Linked DNA regions of Homo sapiens: all the other regions are linked to region 4. The links are contacts of gene promoters, found by promoter capture Hi-C in blood cells and fetal thymus (Javierre and others, 2016). All regions are on one chromosome and are shown on one strand. The core of a region is centred on a gene start or on the middle of the fragment in contact, and the rest is flanking DNA. Distances in the headings are between cores, read along the strand shown. Region 1 has its middle 7.0 kb from the start of CEP85. Region 2 holds the start of CNKSR1 (connector enhancer of kinase suppressor of Ras 1). Region 3 overlaps CATSPER4 (cation channel sperm associated 4). Region 4 holds the start of LIN28A (lin-28 RNA binding posttranscriptional regulator A).

Evidence for each region. The method cuts DNA at HindIII sites, captures the fragments that hold promoters and counts their contacts. A CHiCAGO score of 5 or more calls a contact.
Region 1: a fragment that was not itself captured here is called in contact with the fragment with the promoter of LIN28A in region 4 in 2 of 17 cell types (M2 macrophages and M1 macrophages); the score reaches 5.4 in M2 macrophages.
Region 2: the fragment with the promoter of CNKSR1 here is called in contact with the fragment with the promoter of LIN28A in region 4 in 9 of 17 cell types (M2 macrophages, non-activated CD4 T cells, M0 macrophages and 6 more); the score reaches 10.9 in M2 macrophages.
Region 3: a fragment that was not itself captured here is called in contact with the fragment with the promoter of LIN28A in region 4 in 2 of 17 cell types (M2 macrophages and M0 macrophages); the score reaches 6.0 in M2 macrophages.

The regions. Positions count from the first base shown.
Region 1 is chr1:26,225,829-26,228,528 of GRCh38, forward strand. It overlaps the pseudogene ZPLD2P. Among named protein-coding and RNA genes, the nearest start is that of CEP85, 7.0 kb to the right of the region's middle. The HindIII fragment of the contact is 1,114 bases long and covers 726-1,839 here.
Region 2 is chr1:26,176,145-26,178,943 of GRCh38, forward strand. It overlaps CNKSR1 (connector enhancer of kinase suppressor of Ras 1), which reads left to right and starts at 1,347. Exons shown (of 21, transcript NM_006314.3): 1 at 1,347-1,455. The coding sequence starts at 1,404. The HindIII fragment of the contact is 21,071 bases long and covers 1-2,799 here.
Region 3 is chr1:26,197,418-26,199,955 of GRCh38, forward strand. It overlaps CATSPER4 (cation channel sperm associated 4), which reads left to right. Exons shown (of 10, transcript NM_198137.2): 4 at 269-366; 5 at 540-660; 6 at 869-1,002; 7 at 2,467-2,538. Among named protein-coding and RNA genes, the nearest start is that of CATSPER4, 8.1 kb to the left of the region's middle. RefSeq lists an enhancer at 555-1,054. The HindIII fragment of the contact is 8,937 bases long and covers 1-2,538 here.
Region 4 is chr1:26,409,330-26,412,244 of GRCh38, forward strand. LIN28A (lin-28 RNA binding posttranscriptional regulator A) reads left to right here and starts at 1,488. Exons shown (of 4, transcript NM_024674.6): 1 at 1,488-1,593; 2 at 2,057-2,253. The coding sequence starts at 1,563. RefSeq lists enhancers at 1-196, 197-754. The HindIII fragment of the contact is 9,111 bases long and covers 1-2,915 here.

The DNA.
Region 1 (2,700 bases), core at 33-2,532, 180 kb before region 4:
GTCCTCCTCGGCTTCCCCTCTGCTCTCCTCACCGGTCTCACTCAGTCAACTTCAAGTCTGAGCCTTCTCTGCCTGTCTCCTTCCATTCTCACCTTTCCTGTCACACCAGATCACTCTTCTCCCAGGCTGTCCCTCGTGCCAAACTTTTTTGGTAAATCTTCCTTAATGATCTAGAAACAGTCTCTCCCTTCTTTCTATTCCATAATGGTCCTTCAAAACCCCAACCCTCGCCGGGCGCGGTGGCTCACGCCTGTAATCCCAGCACTTTGGAAGGCCGAGGTGGGCGGATCATAAGGTCAGGAGATCGAGACCATCCTGGCTAACAAGGTGAAACACTATCTCTACTAAAAATACAGGAAAAAAAAAAAATTAGCCGGGCGTGGGGGCGGGCCCCTGTAGTCCCAGGTACTCGGGAGGCTGAGGCAGGAGAATGGCGTGAACCCGGGAGGCGGAGCTTGCAATGAGCCAAGATCTTGCCACTGCACTCCAGCCTGGGCGACAGAGCAAGACTCCGTCTCAAAAAGCAAAAACAAACAAAACAAAACAAAACAAAAACTCCAACCCTCTTGGGAAAGCCCATCTTCTACTAAGTCCATTCTTATTAGAGGCAGGAGGTCCATCATCACACCCTTCTGAATCTCAGTTTCAAAGAGACCAAGCCCTTTGCCCAGTCTTGATAAAATAATGGGAGAATGCTAGCCTTGTCCTGCCAGAATGGCACCTTAAGCTTGATCTCTCTTTCTATGTGGTTTCATAGTCCAATGCCTCCAGCAGCAGAAGCTCGGCAGGTTGGTACAAAGATATTGCTGTGATGAAGTTCTGATGGTTGCACCAGGGTCTGAGGATACACGCTGCTGGGTCTTGGCAGGTGCTGGTTTTGGATTTTGTTTCTGCTCCACTCTATACGAGCTGAGAGAAGTCAGTTAACCTTTTTTTTTTTCTTTCTTTTTTTTTTTTTTTTTTTTGAGACAGAGTCTCACTCTGATGCCCAGGCTGGAGTGCAGTGGCGTGATCTCAGCTCACTGCAACCTCTGCCCCCCGGGTTCAAGCCATTCTCCTGCCTCAGCCTCCCGAGTATCTGGGATTACAGGCACGCACCACCATGCCCAGCTAATTTTTGTACTTTAGTAGAGGGAGGGTTTCACCATGTTGGCCTGGCTGGTCTCGAACTCCTGACCCCAGACGATCTGCCTGCCTCAGCCTCCCAAAATGCTGGGATTATAGGTGTGAGCCATCATGCCCGGCAGTTAACTTATTTGAGTCTCAGCTTCTTGGGTCTCAACAGTACATGGCACTTGTCATTGTGGGGCTGGTGGTTTATCCTTCATCAGAACCTGAGTCTATCCAGAAATGATTGAAAATTCAAGATACAGGGGCAAGCAGGTAGGAGGTGAAAATTCAAGATACAGGCCAGGCAGTGGCTCACACTTGTAATCCCAGCATTTTGCGAGACCAAAGTGGGAGGAGTGGTTGGGGCCAGGAGTTTGACACCAGCCTGGACAACACAGCAAGATGCTGTCTCTATAAAAAATTTAAAAATTAGCTGGGCATCATGGCACATGCTTGTAATCCTAGCTACTTGAGAGGCTGAGGCAGAAGGATCGCTTGAGACCAGGAGTTTGAGGGTGCAGTGAACTATGATGGCGCCACCACACTCCAGCCTGGGAGACAGAGTGAGACCCTGTCTCTAAAAGAAAAAAGAAAATTCAAGATACAGAGCCAGACAGGTAACAAGGACAGGTGAAGGTGGCTGAGTAGGGTCCACACTGAACTAGACAGTGCCTTTCATCCCCATCCTCCCCACCCCCAATTTAACTTACACACAGTCAGTCCCAAGAAAGCTTGTTGAATGAATGAATGGATTTCTAAATAATTCCCTAAAGGGGAATATCTAAGCCTAAAAACTTTCCCCTGCTCTCAATGCCACTTAATTCTGTTTTATAATCATTTCTTTCTTTCCTGCAGGAGCCTGGATGGCCATCTTTCTTCTGATAGCAATAAGCTGGATGCTGGGATAGAAGCCTGATACCTCCTCCAACCCTAGTCCTTGGCCTCTAGTTTACTCGCCTGAGGCAAGGGTAGAGTGGAGGAAGATTTAGGGAAAGCAAGTAGTCCGTTTTATTGTTACGGACCAGAGAGGTTGGGGGTGCAGATGAAACCAACATCTGGTAAGGAGTGTGGCTGATCAGCCTTGGGCTCTGCTTCCTCATCCCACCTTTGCTTCCTATCTCTGGAACTCTTCTAGGGGGAGATTGAGTTACTTAGTATGGTATGGGGAGGTGCAGAGGGTATGGCTAATAAACAGCCGGGAATTCTACTTTGTCTGACTCCTTTCTGTGTAATCCAGATCTTATATTGAGGGGGTTGGGGATGGCAGGGAGAAGTCACTTTATCCTCTATCTCTCCATATGTAAAATGAGAGTTTGAACTGATGATCTCTGCTTCAACATGGAGACTCTATGACTCTCATTCCAGGGAAAGTTCCTGGGCCTTGGCCAGCTGGCCCTAAGTCTCCTTTCTTTTTTTCTGCAAAATGGGCACGAACTATTCAATTTCAGAATGAGGATAAATGTATACACACACTATTATCCAAGCCTCCTTCTCCTGCCCCTTAATTATTTCTGACCTCATTAGCTCCCCCTTCCTAGTAGAGGGTGGATATGGCAGCAGTGTTTGTGTGAATATCATTCCTTTATTCAA
Region 2 (2,799 bases), core at 97-2,596, 230 kb before region 4:
TGCTATGTTGCCCAGGGTGGCTTTGACTCCTGGGCTTGAGTGATACTCCCCCGCTCAACCTCTCAACCTCTCGAGTAGCTGGGACTACAGTCGTGTGCCAGCACTCCCCAGCTCCAAATTTTTTTTTTGTTTTTTGTGGGTTTTTTTTTTGAGACGGAGTCTTGCTTTGTTGCCAGGCTGGAGTGCAGAGGCGTGATCTCAGCTCACTGCAACCTCCGCCTCCCAGGTTCAAGCGATTCTCCTGCCTCAGCCTCCTGAGTAGCTGTGACTACAGGCGTGCACCACCACACCCAGCTAATTTTTGTATTTTTAGTAGAGACGGGGTTTCACCATGTTGGGCAGGCTGGTTTCCATCTCTTAACCTCATGATCCACCCGCCTTGGCCTTCCAAAGTGCTGGAATTACAGGCGTGAACCACCATGCCCGGCCAAATTTGTTTTTAAATATAGTTTTGATAATTGTTCTCATTGTAATCCTAAGCATTTTGTTTTGTGCATTTATTTATTTATTTATAATACAGAGTTTTGCTCTGTTGCCCAGGCTGGAGTGCAGTGGCACGATCTTGGCTCACTGGAACCTCCCCCTCCTGGGTTCAAGGGATTCTCCTGCCTCAGCCTCCTGAGTAGCTGGGATTACAAGCACCCACTACGCCCAGCTAATTTTTTGTATTTTTAGTAGAGATGGTGTTTCACCATATTGGCCAGGCTGGTCTTGAACTCCTGATCTCAAGTGATCCGCCCACCTCGGCCTCCCAAAGTGCTGGGATTACAGGCGTGAGCCACCGCGCCCGGCCTGTTTTATGCCTTTATAAGCAGCTATTCTGAGAAAGCATTCACAGGCCTCACCAGATGCCAGAGTCCATACTGCAAAATCCAAGGGAGGCTAAACACCCCAGTTCTAAATGTTTTCAAGCCATTCAGATACTGTGCACAGCTGCCCTTTGAAGTACGGTCTATTATATCTCTTTTACAGACCCAGAAACTGAGGCGCAGAAGTTAGGGTCAGCCCCAGGTCACACAGCTAACAAGAGCTGGCCTAGGCACCCAGGGACCTGGCCCCCTAGCCTCTGTGCTTTGCTACTGATTTCAGCGCTCCTCTTGTGGCTTTTTCTTGAGGAGCCCAAGGGTCAGGGTCCCACCCCGCGATATGAGGCCAGTGGCACTGCCCCCTAGCAGGCGCGAGATGCCAGAGCCCTAGGATGTCTGAAGGGCCGGGCAGGAGGCGGACGGGCGTGGGCCAATGGCTGTCGCAGTGCCTCATCTTGCCGTCTGTGTGAGCCCAGGTATGCAGTAGGCTCCGCCCAGGACCCAGCCCGGCCCCTCCTTAGGCCTGGGCTCTGGGAGCGGAAATTCCGGCGACAGCAGGGCAAAACAGGAGCTGATTCGAGCTGGCAGAGCTGGGCCATGGAACCGGTAGAGACCTGGACCCCCGGAAAGGTGGCAACTTGGCTGAGAGGTGGGTGGGGCTGGGGTAGAGTTGGGCTTGAAGGGGACTAGGTGTGGTGTCCCACCGGGAAGCGGGAGGAGAGGAAAAGGAAAAAAAATCTGCGGACTGGGTGCGCTGGTTCACACCTGTAATCCCAGCACTTTGGGAAGCCAAGGTGGGTGGGTCACCTGAGGTCGGGAGTTCAAGACCAGCATGGTGAAACCCCGTCTCTACTAAAAATACAAAAATTATCTGGGGGTGGTGGCAGGTGCCTGTAATCCCAGCTACTTGGGAGGCTGAGGCAGGAGAATCGCTTGAACCCAGGAGGCAGAGGTTACAGTGAGCCGAGATTGCACCGCTGCACTCCAGTCTGGACGACAGAGCGAGATTCAGCTCAAAAGAAAAAAAAAAATAATAAACTGCGGGCTCTATCAGTCGGTCAGTCAGTCAACAAATATTTACAGAGCACCTAACATGTTCCAGGAACCGTGCTGGGCAGAGAGACAGATGAGATGACCCTGGGGGGCCCAAGGACCCAGAAGGGGGCCCCTCATCATGGCAGTAGCCCAAGAGGCCTCTAGGGTGATAATGGGGAGGCGGTGTCATGAAAACAGGAGGGAGGCCTGACAGGCCCACACCCACTGTATCTCCTTCATCTTCCCTGGCCCCAGGGCCAGTGGGCTGTTGTTAAATCCGTTTCTTAGAGTCAGAAACTGACACACAGAGCCAGGAAATGATTTGCTCAGTCTCTGGTGTCATTTTCCCCGCTCCACACCCTGAGCTCCTAGTGACAGAAGCAGAAGCCCTAGGCCAGACTGAAGAGGTTGACACAGCCCCACCCTGGGGCTCCTATCCAAGGGGCAAGGTGCTGTCCAGGCTCAGCGAGCCCACACAGATGGGAAGCAACACACCCCACAGGCAGACTCAGAGAAGGAAGGGCCTCCTGACACACAGTGCGACCAGGAGCAGGCAGTCAGGACACCCCTCCCAGAGTGGGGAGCTGGAGCGCACTAGAGACAGGCTCAGGAGGACCAGCCCGGGTAAGGGCAGGAATTCAGGGCTGGGTTCAGACTCCCAGGCTGGATTCCAGGCCCACCCCCACCGCTTGCCAGCTCTGTGACCATAGGTCTTAGTTTTTCTGTCCATCAAATGGGAAAGGCAACTCTGACCTTATGAAGTCGACAAAGTGAGACAATCATGACATAGTTCATTTGTAGCTCAATGCCTGGGTCTATTGGGAGGGCACCAGCCCAATACAGTCACCGTGCAGGAAGGAGGTGGCTCAGGGGCCCATAGCCAGGGAGTGATAGGTTCATGAACTCCCAGTCCAGTGCTCTCAATGTGACACAGGGAACACACACACACACCTCCCCC
Region 3 (2,538 bases), core at 39-2,538, 210 kb before region 4:
CTTAGGGACCAGCCATGTATCTGTAAGGGTCTTTGCTGTGTGTCTCTGAGACTGCATTTGGCTATTGACACATGTATGGGACAGAGAGTACACGTGTGTTTTGTGGCTTGTTTGGGGGGCGGCAGGGTAACAGCAGTGGATGGCAGCTGACTGGCCCTGCTCTGAGAGGGACATTGAGCCCTCATCCCTGGGATGTGGGGAGGGCAGACCTAGGATGCCCCCATGGGCTGGGCCTGACAGACCCCACTGGGGCTGGCCCACTCCCCAGGACGGCTGGAACATCCTCAACTTCATTATCGTCTTTATCTTGCTCTTGCGGTTCTTCATTAATGAAATCAATATTCCCTCCATCAACTACACTCTCAGGTGAGCGGGGAGCTCTGGAGAAATGAGGGGGACCTATCTGGAACCCAGGAATGAGATGGGGGGATAACGACCAGCTGGAGATCAGCTTTGCCTCTCTGGGCAGCTGGTGGGGGTAATGAGGAGGGAAGGGGCTGGGAAGGGCCTAGGGGCACCCCTGACAGGCTCTGCCACAGGGCGCTTCGTCTGGTGCATGTGTGCATGGCGGTGGAGCCCCTCGCCCGGATCATCCGCGTCATCCTGCAGTCGGTGCCTGACATGGCCAATATCATGGTCCTCATCCTCTTCTTCATGCTGGTCAGTGCCTGCCCCCGCCCCCAGCTGTTTCCCTTCCCTGAACAGGGCCCTTGGGTCATTGCAAATAGAGGGGTGTCTGGAAAAGCAGAGAGGCCTGTGGGCCTGAATCCCTGTGATTTCCTCAGCAGCGTTCATTTACATGACATTTGTGTGTCCTATTTCCAGGCCCTTTGGTGAAGTCGGGGTGGGGCTCTTTTCTCTCTGACAGGTTTTTTCCGTGTTTGGAGTAACACTCTTTGGTGCATTCGTGCCCAAGCATTTCCAGAACATACAGGTTGCGCTGTACACCCTCTTCATCTGCATCACCCAGGACGGCTGGGTGGACATCTACAGTGACTTCCAGTGAGTGCCAGTGGGACTTCCAGCCTCATCCCACCTATGGGGCAGGGTAGCCGGTGGAGCTCCAGGCTGAGAGTGGGAGCTCCAGGGATTGGGATGAGGATGGCCCAGTAGAAGTGGGGGTTCCCAGGTCTTTAAACAGAGGAAAAGGAAATACCTGGACTTGTGATACCTGAAGCCTTGTCACCCTTGAATCTCCATATATTCAGAGTCCCATTCCCACCCTGTAATGGGGACCTCTCCCATCATGCTAACCAGCTGGGTAGTTGGCCTTGGATAAGGCAGCAGGTCTGCAGTTATGCCTCAGGTTACAGAGCAACCTCCCAGCCCACCTTGGAGCCCACCAAACTGCCTGAACTCCTGGGAACTTCAGGTCTCATTTCATTCATTCTTAAACCCACTGCCCACATTCATTTTTGTGTTCTGTTCTTTACCTCTTTTCTATTAAGTCTAAGCCCTATTTCTTTCCAGTTTATTCCAGAAAGTGGGACCCCTTAACTGATTTCTTTTTATCTTCTACATGTGAGTATAGAAGCCCAGTAGATAAAGGGCTTCTACAGTCATTCTCCATTATGGCATAGGTAGTGGATAAAAATCAGGCTGGCCGGGGCCGGGCGCGGTGGCTCACGCCTGTAATCCCAGCACCTTGGGAGGCCGAGGTGGGCAGCTCACGAGGTCAGATCAAGGCTATCCTGGCTAACACAGTGAAACCCCATCTCTACTAAAAATACAAAAACAAAGCCCAGTGCAGTGGCTCACACCTGTAATCCCAGCACTTTGGGAGGCTGAGGCAGGTGGATCACAAGGTCAGGAGTTCAAGACCAGCCTGGCCAAAAAGGTGAAACCCCGTCTCTACTAAATATACAAAAATTAGCCGGACGGTGGGGCGCCTGTAATCCCAGCTACTCAGGAGGCTAAGGCAGGAGAATCGCTTGAACCTGGGAGGCGGAGGTTGCGGTGAACCCATATCACGCCACTGCACTCCAGCTTAGGTGACAGAGTGAGACTCTGTCTCAAAAAAAAAAAAAAAAAATTAGCCAGGCGTGGTGGCAAGCACCTGTAGTCTCAGCTACTTGGGAGGCTGAGGCGGGAGAACGACATGAACCCAGGAGGTGGAGCTTGCAGTGAGCCGAGATCACGCCACTTCACTCCAGTCTGGGCAACACAGCGAGACTCCATCTCAAAAAAAAAAAAAGGAGTGTAGCTAATAGATTAAACTTAATAGTGTTGATGTGCACGTCCCCACCTTGCAGGGTTGGTTAGAGAATCAGCTCACTGTCTGGCAGCACAGTAGGTGCTTAGTAGAGAGCAGCTATTGAGACAGGAGTAGGGAATGGGATCTGCACAACAGCAGTGACACAGGCAGAAGTTCTAGTAGGCCTTGGGATGATTTTCCCATTTCAATGACAAGGAAACTCAGGCTTGAAGGGCCAGGGAAATGATGGGGCCCCTGCCTGCCATCTGCAGGACAGAGAAGAGGGAATATGCAATGGAGATTGGGGGTGCCATCTACTTTACCATCTTCATCACCATCGGTGC
Region 4 (2,915 bases), core at 238-2,737:
AGAATTCCAAAAGGTTCTGCACACTCGGTGGAGAAGATTGAATTCAGAGCAAGCGGATGCCCCCGAAAGCAGGCTCTGTCCCTTTAAATGGGTTGTAGTGGTGGGGGAGGGGAACTGGCCGGAGCTGGCATTGTCCAGTTTGAACTGAACACCGGAAGTGAAGGGGCAGGGCCAGGGCCGTGCACTGAGCCCCGGGCCATTGTCCATCTCCGACCAGGGCAGTAGCCACCCCCACTAGCCAGCCGTCTTTATCTCCTAGAAGGGGAGGTTACCTCTTCAAATGAGGAGGCCCCCCAGTCCTGTTCCTCCACCAGCCCCACTACGGAATGGGAGCGCATTTTAGGGTGGTTACTCTGAAACAAGGAGGGCCTAGGAATCTAAGAGTGTGAAGAGTAGAGAGGAAGTACCTCTACCCACCAGCCCACCCAGTCCCTCTCTCAGCAGTGGATGGGGATGGGGTGGGGGTAGGACGAGAAGGCAGCTGGTGGAGAAACAGCTTCAAGACTCTTTGGGTTCCTCCTGCTCTCCAGGGAGCTTACCTGGGGCTAACTTTAGACACACAGGTTTGGAGGGAGGAAAGAAGGAAGAATTCTTTACAACGAATCAATTAAGAGCACTTTCTCTTTTCTAACTGGGGGAGGCCCAGAAAAACTCTGAGTCAGAAACTCTGGGAGGCAGACATTCAGATGTAGTCAGAGGCAGACAGACTTTGGAAGGCAGCGCTTTGGTCAGGACAGATCAGCCCTGTGTGTCCCCAGCCTCTCCCCTGCTCCCCCATCCCGGGCTTCCCAGTGTCCAGAACTCCAGGTCTATCTAAGCACACGGGGGTGGGGGGTGAGAGCGGGTCAGCTCCAAGCAGCCGGGTCAGCTCAGAGGCCTGAGGGGGAAGAGAGGGGGAGGGGAGCTCAAGGGCTGGGGGAGGGGGAGGGCCCATTCATTTCTCCCTTGACAGGTGGTTTGTGTTTCTGATTGGCCAGCGCCGCCAGGCTCACACCTCCCTCCCCCAACTCTCTGGAATGTATAATTATCTGCCCGGGGGGTGGGGGTGGTGTGTGTGTGTGTGTGTGTGTGTGTGTGTGTGTGTGTGCAGTCACGTGGTTTTAAAACTACCCCCCCCACCAGGTCCCCCACCTGTATCTGCTTTGGGGACCCCTACTGAGTCCAAAGTGCAGGATCTCAAATTCCGGGGTACTCAAGTCTTCTAGGGCAGACAGACCCATCTCCAGTTGTGCGTGTGGGGAGGGGGTGTCAAACCTCAAGGTTCTGAGAAGGGACACCCCAGAGGTGTCAGAGACCGGAGTTGTGGGGGAGGGCCGGAGCTGGAGCCGGAGGGAAAGGGAGGGGAAAGGAGAGGGAGGGGAGGGGAGGGGGCTGCCCGCGGGGGGTTGGGTCATTGTCTTTTAGAATTTGGGAGCCTTTGAAAAGCCGTGGGCCCTCCCACCGCTATTGTGCGGGGGAAGATGTAGCAGCTTCTTCTCCGAACCAACCCTTTGCCTTCGGACTTCTCCGGGGCCAGCAGCCGCCCGACCAGGGGCCCGGGGCCACGGGCTCAGCCGACGACCATGGGCTCCGTGTCCAACCAGCAGTTTGCAGGTTCGAGCTCGGGACTTAGCGGGGACACTTTAGGATTCAGGGGCGGCCAGGAGCCACGTAGAAGGGAGGTGGGGAACTGAGTCCTAGGCTGCCCAAAGGACCCCAAGACGGTGCGGCCTTCTGCTTCATAGGGCCGTCTCTGGGGCCAGGAACCTTGGTGTCCCAGTGGCGTGCGCGCCAGACTACGTGGGTGGATGGAGAGGAGAGGCTTGTCCCGCCGTGAGTCTCTGGGAAACGCGTTGTGGGAAGAGGAGCAAAACTTTCGGGGCACTACTGTCCCGGTGTACGCTAGGGGAACGCGGGAGGCGACCGGGATAGGTTTCTTCTCTTCTGTTGCTTGGTAGCTGCCCCCTCCTGGCTGTCCACTTGTGGGGCTGGATACTCGGGTCTCCCTGCCTGGGGCCCGAGACGGCCCTCCGATTCCGTGCCCCCCAGCTAAGTGCCCGGCCCTCCCTCTCTCCAGGTGGCTGCGCCAAGGCGGCAGAAGAGGCGCCCGAGGAGGCGCCGGAGGACGCGGCCCGGGCGGCGGACGAGCCTCAGCTGCTGCACGGTGCGGGCATCTGTAAGTGGTTCAACGTGCGCATGGGGTTCGGCTTCCTGTCCATGACCGCCCGCGCCGGGGTCGCGCTCGACCCCCCAGTGGATGTCTTTGTGCACCAGGTGAGACTGATTCCGGTAACTTTGCCCAGGGAAGGGCGTCTAGGCGCCCATATCCACGGGTGGGCTCCGGGCTCGCAGTTGAATTGAGGGCCATCGGGAGCCCTCATTATGCATCCCTGTCTTTGCTTCGGCACCCCAATTCTGAGTCCCTGTTAACTATCTCGTGGGGGAGTAGTGGGAGGCAGCACCAATTATCAGCACCCCCGCCCCCTTCCGGGAACCCCTCCGGCTTACCACGTGTCTATTACCTCTTTCCCCTGGGAAGGGGCAGGGGGCAGGGAGGTGACCCCATGTGGCAGAAACTAAGGTTGTATTGTGCTTGCCGGTGGGGGGAGGGCGAGCAGGCCGGCCAGGGAAGCACATGCCGGGCCTAAGCCGGGAGCCCAGCTCCTCCAACGTCTGAATGGAGCTCAGAAGGCGGGAGAGAGTGAGGGCAACTGGCTACTGGACCCAAGGGGCGTAAAGCCGAGAAGTCAGCCTCATCCCCTTTTTAATGCAGACCTCACCTGGCTGGTCACTAAAAACTGGGTTTGGCAGATCCCTGAAGGATCCCTGTGGGGGCTTGAAAGCTCAGGACTGGGGTCTTTGCTGTCCAGTTCCCGTGAGGAAGGAAAACCCAAAGAGCCCAGGCCTTCCTTACATTCCTGGGCCAGGCTGGGAGG